2 separate regions of the Homo sapiens genome follow, and region 1 is linked to region 2. The links are contacts of gene promoters, found by promoter capture Hi-C in human tissues and cell types (Jung and others, 2019). All regions are on one chromosome and are shown on one strand. The core of a region is centred on a gene start or on the middle of the fragment in contact, and the rest is flanking DNA. Distances in the headings are between cores, read along the strand shown.

The links. Contacts are between HindIII fragments. The study calls those that stand out against the background at their distance.
Region 1: a fragment that was not itself captured here is called in contact with the fragment with the promoter of RNF135 in region 2 in 1 of the 25 tissues and cell types used here (mesendoderm cells).

The regions. Positions count from the first base shown.
Region 1 is chr17:31,542,134-31,547,664 of GRCh38, reverse strand. No RefSeq gene overlaps it. Among named protein-coding and RNA genes, the nearest start is that of TRT-CGT4-1, 5.2 kb to the left of the region's middle. The HindIII fragment of the contact is 7,091 bases long and covers 1-5,531 here.
Region 2 is chr17:30,966,913-30,972,841 of GRCh38, reverse strand. RNF135 (ring finger protein 135) reads right to left here and starts at 1,803. Exons shown (of 5, transcript NM_032322.4): 1 at 1,397-1,803. The coding sequence starts at 1,768. RefSeq lists enhancers at 988-1,237, 1,266-1,827, 1,928-2,177, 1,828-2,389, 2,458-2,517 and 1 more and a silencer at 1,308-1,847. The HindIII fragment of the contact is 16,210 bases long and covers 1-5,929 here.

The sequences.
Region 1 (5,531 bases), core at 881-3,380, 570 kb before region 2:
ACTTTGTGCTCAGTTTTGCGTGAATCTAAAACTGCTCTGAAAAATTAAGTCTGTGAAAAGGAAGAAATGAACTACCAAGTCATGAAAAAAACACAGAAGAATCTTCAATGTATATTACTAAGTGAAAATGCATACTACTGCTATGGTTTGAATGTGTCCCCTAAAGTTCATGTGTTAGAAACTTGATCCCCAATGTGGTGGTCTTGGAGATGGGACCTAGTGGGAAGTGTTTGGGTCATGGGGCCACTACCCTCATAAATGCATTAATGCCATTCTCAAAGGAGTGGGTTCATTATAGAGCAAGTAGTTTTCTTATAAAAGAAGTTTGCCTTCCCACCCTCTCTTTGCCCGGCCTCTGGGTTGATGAAGCAAGAAGGTCCTCACCAAATGCCAGCTCCTCGATCTTGGGCTTCCCAGCCTTCAGTCCCACGAGCCAATAAATTTCTGTGCATTATAAATTACCTAGTCTATGGTATTCTGTCTTAGCAGCACAAAACGGACTGAGACAAGCTAAACTGAAAAGGCTACATACTGTATTATATGACATTCTAAAAAAGGCAAAACTGTGGAAACAGTAAAAATATCAATGGTTGCCAGGGGTTGAGGGGTGGGAAGGATGAGTAGATAGGGCACAGAGAGTTTTTAGGGCAGCAAAACTATTCTGCATGATATAATGGTGGATACATATCATTATATATTTGTCAAAACCCATAGAGGGGTTCTGGGCTGGGAAAAATAAAGAAAAAAAAATCCCATAGAACGTTCAACACCAAGAGTGAACCCTGGTGTAAACTATGTACTTTGGATGATGATGTGTCAATGCAGGGTCATCAGTTGTAACAGATGTACCACTCTAGTGGAGGATGTTGATGGCAGGGGAGACTAGGGAGATACGGCGGCCATGGGTATATAGGGAACTCTGCTTTCTGCTTAGTTTTGCTGTGAACCTAAAACTGCTCTTTAGAAGTCTGTTTTACAAGGCCGGTTGCAGTGGCTCATGCCTGTAATCCTGGCACTTTGGGAGGCCAAGGCGGGTGGGTCACCCAAGTTCAGGAGTTCGAGACCAGCCTAGGCAACATGGTGAAACTCCATCTCTACTACAATACAAAAAATTAGCTGGGTGTGGTGGCATGCACCTGTAATCCCAGCTACTCAGGAGGCTGAGACAGGAGAATTGCTTGAACCTGGGAGGCAGAGGTTGCAGTGAGCCGAGATCATGCCATTGCACCCTGGCCTGGACAACAGAGTGAGACTCCATCTCAAAAAAAAAAGTCTCTTTTACAAAAACGGGGCTGGTCTCTGTGACTGACACGCATAAGGTCAGGAGTTCAAGACCAGCCTGACCAACATGGTGAAACCCTGTCTCTACTAAAACTACAAAAATTAGCCAGGTGTGGTGGTGTGCACCTGTAGTCCCAGCCACTTGGGAGGCTGAGGCAGGAGAATTGCTTCAACCCAGGAGGCAGAGGTTGCAATGAGCCGAGATTGTGCCACTGCACTCCAGCCTGGGCAACAGAGCAAGACTCCATTTAAAAAATAAATAAATAAATAACAAGAAAAATAATTTTTGAATTCTTTCCTCTCTGACCCCCTGCTATGAATCATTATCAACCCTGGGCCACATTGTAGTTGCCCTTTGGTGGGGTCACTGTGGGTTCACCCAGGTCCACTTCTCAGCTGGGTAGGCCTAGGAGCTGGTTCTGGAACACAGAGCTCCAAGTGGGCAGGAATCAAGCCTTACTCACCTTCATACAGCGTGGTCATAAGAGCACCTAGTCATTTATTCCTTCAGCAAATCATTGAGCATCTACTGTGTGCCAAATACTGTTCTCAATGCTAGGGCTATAGCGGTGAACTAAGCAGCACAGATCTCTGCCCTTATGGGGCTTCCATTCTTAAATAAGCAAAACATACAGTCTATCAGTTGGTGAGAAGTACTAGGGAGAAAAATACAGCAGGGAAGGAGGCTAGGATGTTCTTCAGGAGGGGGAGAGTTGCAGCTTTTTTTTTGAAATGGAGTCTTGCTCTGTCGCCAGGCTGGAGCAGAGTGCCGCTATCTCAATTCACTACAACCTCCACCTCCTGGGTTCAAGCGATTCTCCTGCCTCAGCCTCCCAAGTAGCTGGGATTACAGGCGCGCACCACCACACCCAGGTAATTTTTGTATTTTTTTTTTTTTTAGTAGAGACGGGGTTTCACCATGTTGGCCAGGATGGTCTCGATCTCCTGACCTCATGATCTGCCCACCTTGGCCTCCCAAAGTGCTAGGATTACAGGCGTGAGCCACCGCGCCTGGCCAGGTTGCAGTTTTTTTGTTGTTGTTTTTTTTTCTTTTTTTCTTTTTTTGAGACAGAGTCTCGCTCTATCGCCCAGGCTGGAGTGCAGTGGCGCTATCTCAGCTCACTGCAAGCTCCACCTCCCGGGTTCACGCCGTTCTCTTGCCTCAGCCTCCTGAGTAGCTGGGACTACAGGCCCCCGCCACCGCGCCCAGCTAATTTTTTGTAGTTTTAGTAGAGACGGGGTTTCACCGTGTTAGCCAGGATGGTCTCGATCTCCTGACCTCATGATCCGCCCGCCTCGGCCTCCCAAAGTGCTGGGATTATAGGCATGAGCCACCGTGCCCGGCCCGGGTTGCAGTTTTAAATAGGTGGTTGCCTGGTGCGGTGCTCACATCTGTAATCCCAGCACTTTGGGAGGCCCAGGCGGGTGTATCACCTGAGGTCAGGGGTTCAAGACCAGCCTGGCCAACATGGTGAAACCCCATCTCTAGTAAAAATACAAAAAATTAGCTGGGCGTGGTTGTGGGTTCCTGTAATTCCAGCTGCTCTGGAGGCTGAGGCAGGAGAATCGCTTGAACCTGGGAGGTGAAGGTTGCAGTGAGCTGAGATCACACCATTGCACTGCAGCCTGGGCAACAGAGCCAGACTCCGTCTCATAAATAAGTGGGATAGCTTAAATGCAGTCACAAATTCTTTGCAGCTTTTCCCACCTAGAGGTGGAGTCTCTTCTCCCACTTTTTGGTACAGGCTGGCCATGGGGCTTGCTTTGACTAAAACAATGTGGCAAAAGTGATGTTATGTAAGTTCTGAAGCTTAAGGCCCCAAGAGAGGCAGCTTCTGCCTCCACTGTCTTAGGAAATTGCCCTGAGAATGCTGTGGAAGAAAGGCAGTCTAGCTACTGAAGGTTGAGAGGCCCCGAGGGTCATTCCAGCTAACAGCCAGCACCGTCTGCCAGACATGTCAGGTAGCCATCTGGGACCTTCCAGCTCAGCTGATGCCTCAGCTGGATGCAGCTGCAAGATCGAGCCCAGGCACACCCAGCAGAGGAACTGCCAGCCTACCACAGAATCAGGAAGGTAATAAATCATTGTATGCCTTAGGATTTGAGGGTGGTTTGTTACATAGAAGCAATAGTTCATTGATACAGGAGGCCATATACAGCTTACACACCTTTCCATTCTAGGTTTGTGGGCTGCTGGTTATTTGTATGGAGTAGGCAAAAGTTAGTGATGCAGGGTAACTTTGGCAGAGGCCATGTACAGTGTCCCTTCAGCCTCCATTTAGTCTGTTTCCTCATCTACAAAATGGGAGAGTTAGCCATTAGCTACAGCCCTGTGTTAATTATACATTGAGCAAGATTCATTATCCACTGCTAAAGTGAACAGCGGAATGAAATGCCAGCTTGACCCTTCTGCCTTTGGTACAGTAACACCTGACACTTTTCCCTTTGATCAAATTTCACAGCCACCAGAAAAGGTCTAAATTAAGGTGCTGTTAATAGGAGGGAAAGTCAATGCAACTTGAGACTTTTTGGAGAATATGTGGCCACTTATTTATTCATTTATTTCTTATTTATTTTTTGAGACTGATTCTCACTCTGTCGCCAGGCTGGAGTGCAGTGGCACGATCTTGGCTCACTGCAACCTCCGCCTCCCAGGTTCGAGCGATTCTCCTGCCTCAGCCTCCCGAAAAGCTGGGACTACAGGTGCCCACCACCATACCCAGCTAATTTTTGTATTTTTCATAGAGATGGAGTTTCACCATGTTGGCCAGGCTGGTCTCAATCTCCTGACCTCGTGATCCGCCCGCCTCAGCCTCCCAAAGTGCTGGGATTACAGGCATGAGCCACCACGCCTGGCTTTATTCATTTATTTAGAGACAGGGTCTGGGCTCTGTCAACCAGGCTGGATTCCTTCTGGGATGGGGGATCTTCTGAGAGGAAGCCTGGTGGAGAGGAAACTGGAGGCCCTGGTGTTTCAGGTACCTACTGCTGTGTCTAATCAACTACCCCAACATTTAGATCTTAAAATAACAACTTTATTGTTTTCCATGGCTCTGTGGGTTGACCAGGCAGTTCTGCTTCATCTGGTGGTTGCTGGGGATTTGGGATGGCCTCACTCTCCTGCTAGTCTTGGCTGGGGCCTCAGTTCTCCACGTGGCTGTTTGAGATTCCTCACAGCTGGGTTTTCCAAGAAGGTGCATTTTAAGAGGAAGGACGCAGAAGCTGCTGATCTTCTTAAGGTTAGAGCTCAGAAGTCCCAGAATGGGCCGGGCGCAGTGGCTCTCACCTGTAATCCCAGCACTTTGGGAGGCTGAGGCAGGTGGATCACCTGAGGTCAGAAGTTTGAGACTAGCCTGGCCAACATGGAGAAACTCTGTCTCTATTAAAAACACAAAAAATTAGCCGGGCATGGTGGTGGATGCCTGTAATCCCAGCTACTCAGGAGGCTGAGGCAGGAGAATTGCCTGAACCCAGTGAGCCGAGATCACGCCATTGCACTCCATCCTGGACAAGAAGAGCAAAACTTCGTCTAAAAAAAAAAAGTCCCAGAATGTCACTTCTGCCTCAAGTGATGCATTTTTGCATCTATTCATCAAAGCAGTCACAGAATTAGCCCAGATTCAAAGAGGTGAAGAATAAACTTCACCTCTCAGTGGAATAGTGGCCTGCACCCAGGGAGGGAATAAATCCATGGTACTTGTCTTTGGAGACTGTATCACACCTGTCATTCACTGGCTCTGTGACTTTGAGAGTAGACACAAATTGAACTCAGTCCTGGGGCTGGGTTCAATCTTTACAAAGATGTAAAGAGATACAAAGTGGGTCTCCTTTGTCTCTGCCCCACCTCAAAAAATGGTCTCATCTTGAGGGCTCACTAGTGGGAGTATTTGGAGCAGATACTCTCCCACGTTCCTTCCAGCCCTGATGGCCTTCAGAGCCCACGCTCATAGCCCCCCAACTGCAGAACCAAGGTCTGAGGGTCTGGCCCAGGCTCTGCCAGAGCTTGGCAAAGTCCACCTTTTGGTCAGGGGCTGCCTGCTGACCTGGGTAAGCTGGGAAAGCCAACCCTGAAACCATGGCCAAGTGGTGGCAGAGCTGGAAAAGGTATTTCTCCCTGGAGGGGCCAGCTGGGCTAGAAAGCAAGGGCCGAGAGTCCACAAGCTCCCGTGGGCTTGGTGCTGTCAAGCAGGCTGTAGGAAGTAGGCTCATAATTCAGCACCTCTGCACCCTGGGTTTGGGCCTTTCAGAAA
Region 2 (5,929 bases), core at 554-3,053:
ATCATGCCACTACACTCCAGCCTGGCAACAGAGCAAGACTCCATCTCAAAACAAAACAAACAAAAAAAATGTGGCACATCCACCCAATGGAATATCATTCAGCCCCATAAAAGGAATAAAGTTCTGACACATGCTACAACATGAATGAACTTTGAAAACACTATGCTAAGTGAAAGAAACCAGGCACAAAGGGACAAACATTGAACGATTCCAGTTATATGAAATATCTAGAACAGGCAAACTCAGATACAGAAAGTAGCTTAGATGTGAGCAGGGGCTAGAGGGAGGAGAAATGAGGAGTTACTGCTTAATGAGTACAAAGTTTCTGTTTATGATGATGAAACAGTTTTGGAAACAGAAGTGATAGTTGCACAACAGGAAATGTAACTAATTTGTCACTGAATTGTACACTTAAAAATGGTTAAAATAGGCGGGGCGCGGTGGCTCACACCTGTAATCCCAGCACTTTAGGAAGCCGAGGCGGGCAGATCACGAGGTCAGAAGATCGAGACCATCCTGGCTAACAACGGTGAAACCCCGTCCCTATTTTTTAAAAAAAGAAAAAAACATACAAAAAATTAGCCAGGCGTGGTGGCGGGCGCCTGTAGTCCCAGTTACTCGGGAGGCTGAGGCAGGAGAATGGCGTGAACCCGGGAGGCGGAGCTTGCAGTGAGACAAGATGGCGCCACTGCACTCCAGCCTGGGCCACAAAGCAAAACTCCGTCTCAAAAAAATAAAAGGTTAAAATGAGGCCAGGCGCTGTGGCTCATGACTGTAATCCCAGCACTTTGGGAGGCCGAGGCGGACGGATCATCTGTGGTCAAGAGTTTGAGACTAGCCTGGCTAACATGTCGAAACCCCGTCTCTACTAAAAATACCAAAATTAGCCGGGCGTGATGGCGCACGCCTGTAATCCCAGCTACTCTCGAGCCTGAAGCAAGAGAATCACTCGACCCTGGGGGGCGGAGGTTGCAGTGAGCCGAGATCACGCACGCCATTGCACTCCATCCAGCCTGGGCGACAGAGCGAGACTCCGTCTCAAAGAAATAAAGAAAAAGGTTAAAATGGCCAGTTTTAATGTTATATAGATCTTACCACAATTTTACAAGTTTCAGAGAAAGAGACCGAAGATCGATTGGGAAGAAGTTGAAATATGCCAAGCTGTGTAACAGCTAAGTTGACAAGCTTTCGGAAGATGGGGAATTTGTTTTTTTCTACTTCTTCATACTTTTATGAACTTTCCAAAGTGCCTCCGAAGAGCGGAACTCGACTTTTAGACTGAGAAAAGGAACGTAAAAGTAGAACGGCTGAGGAAAGGGGTTCGAGCCACATGGGAAAGGGTCAGGCGGCGGGCAGCCCGGGGGAGCCAGGGGAGCTGCGGGCCCGGCCTCCCTACCCGCTGCAGTTCCGGGCGGCGCCGGGGCCTCGCGGCCGCGCTGGAGAGGGAACTGGAGCCCGGGCAGGGGCAGTGGGCAGGGTCGGAGCCCGCCTGTATCTCGCGTGCGGCGCGGCGGTACTTGTCGGCCAGGTCCTGCAGTAGCGTGTTCTTCCGCAGGTGCGGCTGCTGCGCGGCGCCCTGGCGGCAAGTGGGGCAGGCCCAGCGGCGGGCGTCGCGGGCGCCCCACAGGGCCTCCAGGCAGTGGCGGCAGAAGCTGTGGCCGCAGGGCAGCGTGGCGGGCCAGTCCAGCAGCCCCTGGCAGATGATGCAGCCGAGGTCGTCCTCGGCCAGCCACACGGGAACGGCGGAGCCCAGGCCCAGGCCCGCCATGGCCAACAGGCGGCCGGGGCGCGGACGTCGGGGTTGAGCCGGGCGAGTCTCCTCAGGCTCCTCCCTCGCCCTTCCTCTTCCCCTTGCCCTCCTCCTTTTCTCGGCCGCCTTTTCTCCTCCTTCCTTGGCGCCACCCCGTCTCCTTCCTCCGATCCTGCTGAAAACAGACTTAGAGCCTCCAGTGCCCAGCTGGAAAGACAGAGCTGACCTTCAGTGGCGGCCTCTTGCCCTGGGAAACCAACATGCCGCGAGCTGCTAGAAACCCGCGGAGGTCTCCAAGATTCCCTTTAGCTGGATGTCCCTCCATTAAGATGCAGCACCGTTGGATGTCTTCGTCCGTTGGCTTAAAAAAAAATAAACAACAAAAAAGATGCAACACCGACAACTCTTGGGAGGAGAGGACTCCATTCAGCAGCTTATTTATGAGAATGAGCCCACGAAGTGTCATCCAGCTCCTCTAACAAGTAGCAGGGGATTAAAGATCACCGATGCACAGCCACAGGGAGCGTCCTCAAAAATGCTGATGTTCGGCCCCGCTCGCAGGGAGTCTGATTTCATTGTCTTGGGTGGAGCACGGGTATTTTGTAAAACCTCCCCCAGGTGATTCTGACGCGCATTCAAGGTTGAGTGAGCGAACCCTTGGCTTTTTAACTCGCAGGTATAATGCAGAGTTGTGCGCTGTGTCCTTACCGCCTTCTGCGGGATGTAAGCGCGTTTCCCAACAGACACTCGGACAAAATTCTAGAAAGTGTTTTCCTGAGAAGGCTCACTCACTCACTCACTTCGCATCCCAGTCCTAAACGCATTGCAACCAGAAAATGTTAGAGCTAAAAGAGCACCACGTCCTCCCAGATGACCCAAAGAGGTTAAAAAAAAAAAAAAGAGAAAAAAGAAAAACTTGCAGGCTCTCATGGTAACAATGAAGCGTCAGAGACTAAAACCCACAACTCCCCAATCTGTTGAAATGAACTAACAACGTCTCATGCTTTACTTTATCCTTTCTGGCCTGGGCTCAAAGTAGGTATCAGATAATACAAGTTTGTAGCCGACCTTTGGATCACTTGAAGTCAGGAGTTCAAGACCAGCCTGGCCAACATGGTGAACCCTCATCTCTACTGAAAATACAAAAAGAAAAGAAAAGAAAAGCCAGGCGCCCTGGCGCATGCCTGTAATCCCAGCTACTTGGGAGGCTGAGGCAGGAGAATCTCTTGAACCCGGGAGGCGGAGGTTTCAGTGAGCCAAGACTGCGCCACTGCACTCCAGCCTGGGCGACATAGGGAGACTCCGTCTCAAAAAAAAAAAAAAAAAAAAAAAGAAAAAAAAGAAAGAAAAGAAAGAAAAAAAAGCGTTTGTGGTTATTTCTAATACTGGAAGTGTCATGGAGTAGGCAGCGCTGCTCATCAACGTTTCCAGTGCTTTCCCTTTCTGGGCACATGGTAGGACTGGCACTTCCCTGACCCACTTGAAACACACAGAGGTAATATGTTACTTCCCACCAGCTTTAAAGGCGACTGAGCCGGCCATTGTATCCCTTTCTGCCAGCTGCCCCAATTATGGAGATGAAACCATCATCCGGTGACCTGGGTCACTGAGTGGCTAAGATGAGCAGACTCCCTGCCAACGCACCCTAGGATACGTAGTAAGAGGGAGAAGAAAACTAGGATGTATTCAGCTTACTGAGATTTAGTGGGTGTGTGCTGCTACAGCATAACCTAGCCTATCCTGACTGATGTATTACCTGGATCTTGTTCTAGAATCTCCGCATCGGAGTAAAATCGTAGTTTCTAAGAGCCTCTTTTTTTCTGTAAAACGGGCATGATACTAAACACTTAAACATGCTCAGATCTTCCAACTTAAAAAATGAAATCACTGGCGGGGCGTGGTGGCTTATGCCTGTAATCTCAGCACTTTGGGAGGCTGAGGCAGGTGGATTGCCTGAACTCAGGAGTTCGAGACCTGCCTGAGCAACATGGTGAAACCTTGCCTCTACAAAAAAAATACAAAAACTACCTAGACATGGTAGCGCAGGCCTGTGATCCCAGCTACTCAGGAGACTGAGGTGGGAGGATTGCTTGAGCCAGGGAGGTGGAGGCTGTAATGAGCCATGAGATCTCAGGAGGTCAAGACTGTGGTTAGCTGTGATCACACCACTTCACTCCAGCCTGGGGAAGGAGCTAGACCTAGTCTCAAAAAAATTAAAAATTAAAAAATAAAATAAAATCACCTTTGACCTGAGCCTCCCTGGAACCAGCTCTCCTCTTCTCCATTTCACAGCCAAGTTTCTGGAAAGAGTGAGTTAACCAGTAGTTTTCAAACTTTTTTCTTGGACACGCCCTAAAAGTTTTATGCAAAATCATGCAGTGGTTATAAGAAAGGGGGAAGTGGGGGCCGGGCGCAGTGGCTCACGCCTGTAATCCCAGCACTTTGGGAGGCTGAGGCGGGCGGATCATGAGGTCAGGAGATTGAGACCATTCTGGCTAACACGGTGAAACCCCGTCTCTACTAAAAAATACAAAAAAAATTAGCCGGGCGTGACGGCGGGAGCCTGTAGTCCCAGCTACTCAGGAGGCTGAGGGAGGAGAATGACCTGAACCCAGGAGGCGGAGCTTGCAGTGAGCTGAGTTCGCACCACTGCACTCCAGCCTGGGCGACAGAGCAAGACTCTGTCTCAAAAGAAAAAAAAAAAAGAAAGAAAGAAAGGGGGAAGGGGGAGAGTGGTCAGCTCTGGTAGTAAAAATATATTAGCAAATTCTTCATTTATATCAGATTTTTTTTTTTTTTGAGATGGAGTCTCACTTTGTTGCCCAGGCTGGAGTGGAGTGGAGTGGCACAATCTCGTCTCACTGCAACCTCCACCTCCCGGGTTCAAACCATTCTCCTGCCTCAGCCTCCGGAGTAGCTGAGATTACAGGCGCTCGCCACCATGCCCGGCTAATTTTGTATTTTTAGTAGAGATGGGGTTTCCCCATGTTGACAGGGTTTCTCCATGTTGGCCAGGCTTGTCTCGAACTCCTGACCTCAGGTGATCCGCCCACCTCATCCTCCCAAGTGCTAGGATTACAGAGGTGAGCCACCGCGCTCAGCCTACATCAGACATTTTGTCATTCTTGGCCGAGTGCGGTGGCTCATGCCTGTAATCCCAGGACTTTGGGAGGCCGAGGCAGGCGGATCATGAGGTCAGGAGTTCGAAAAATACAAAAAAAAATTAGCTGGGCGTAGTTGCAGGCACCTGTAATCCCAGCTACTCAGGAGGCTGAGGCAAGAGAATCATTTGAACCCGGGAGGTGAAGGTTGCCATGAGCCAAGATGGCACCATTGCACTCCAGCCTCGGCAACAGGGCAAGACTCCGTCTCAAAAAAAAAAAAAAAGAAATTTTGTCATTCTTTTATCTTTCTGAACTTGTATTTCCATTCCATTTCCTCCACAGAATTACATTCCAAAGCAATATATTTCATGCATGAAAGTCTTTTATCACTTTGTAATACTTCTCTACAACAAAAGTATGTATGTGTATTAAATTTTTAATTCTTCTTAACTTCCTGTGACAAAAAGGCTCTTGGTAAATTTTTTCCCCTGGATTTAATTATCAATATAATTACTATTAGCAGTCAAACAAAAGAAAAGTATGCTGCAATTTATAACTTTTATATAAATAAAATAACTTTTAAAGACAGTAAACATTTTATTGGAATGATAGCTATTAATAAGACAGATGGGCTCATTTCTTTCAAAAATGCATTTATGCCCAGGCACGGTGGCTCACATCTGTAATCCCAGCACTTTGAGAGGCCAAGGTGAGCGGAACACTTGAGGTCAGGAGTTTGAAACCAGCCTGGCCAACCTGGTGAAACCCTGCCTCTACCAAAAAATACAAAAATTAGCTGGGCATGGTGGCCTGAGGTCCCAGCTACTCCAGAGGCCGAGGCAGGAGAATTGCTTGAACTTAGGAGACGGAGGTTGTAGTGAGCTGAAATGGCACCACTGCACTCCAGTCTGGGCAACAGAGCAAGACTCTGTCAAAAAAAGAAGCATTTATCTATGAATGAACATTACTTAATGATAGACAAACTTTTGCAATAAATTCTATTTCTTTTATGTTTTTATGTGTGCCGAGAAATCTTGTTCACATGTATAAATAGATGACAAAATTGTCACTCATT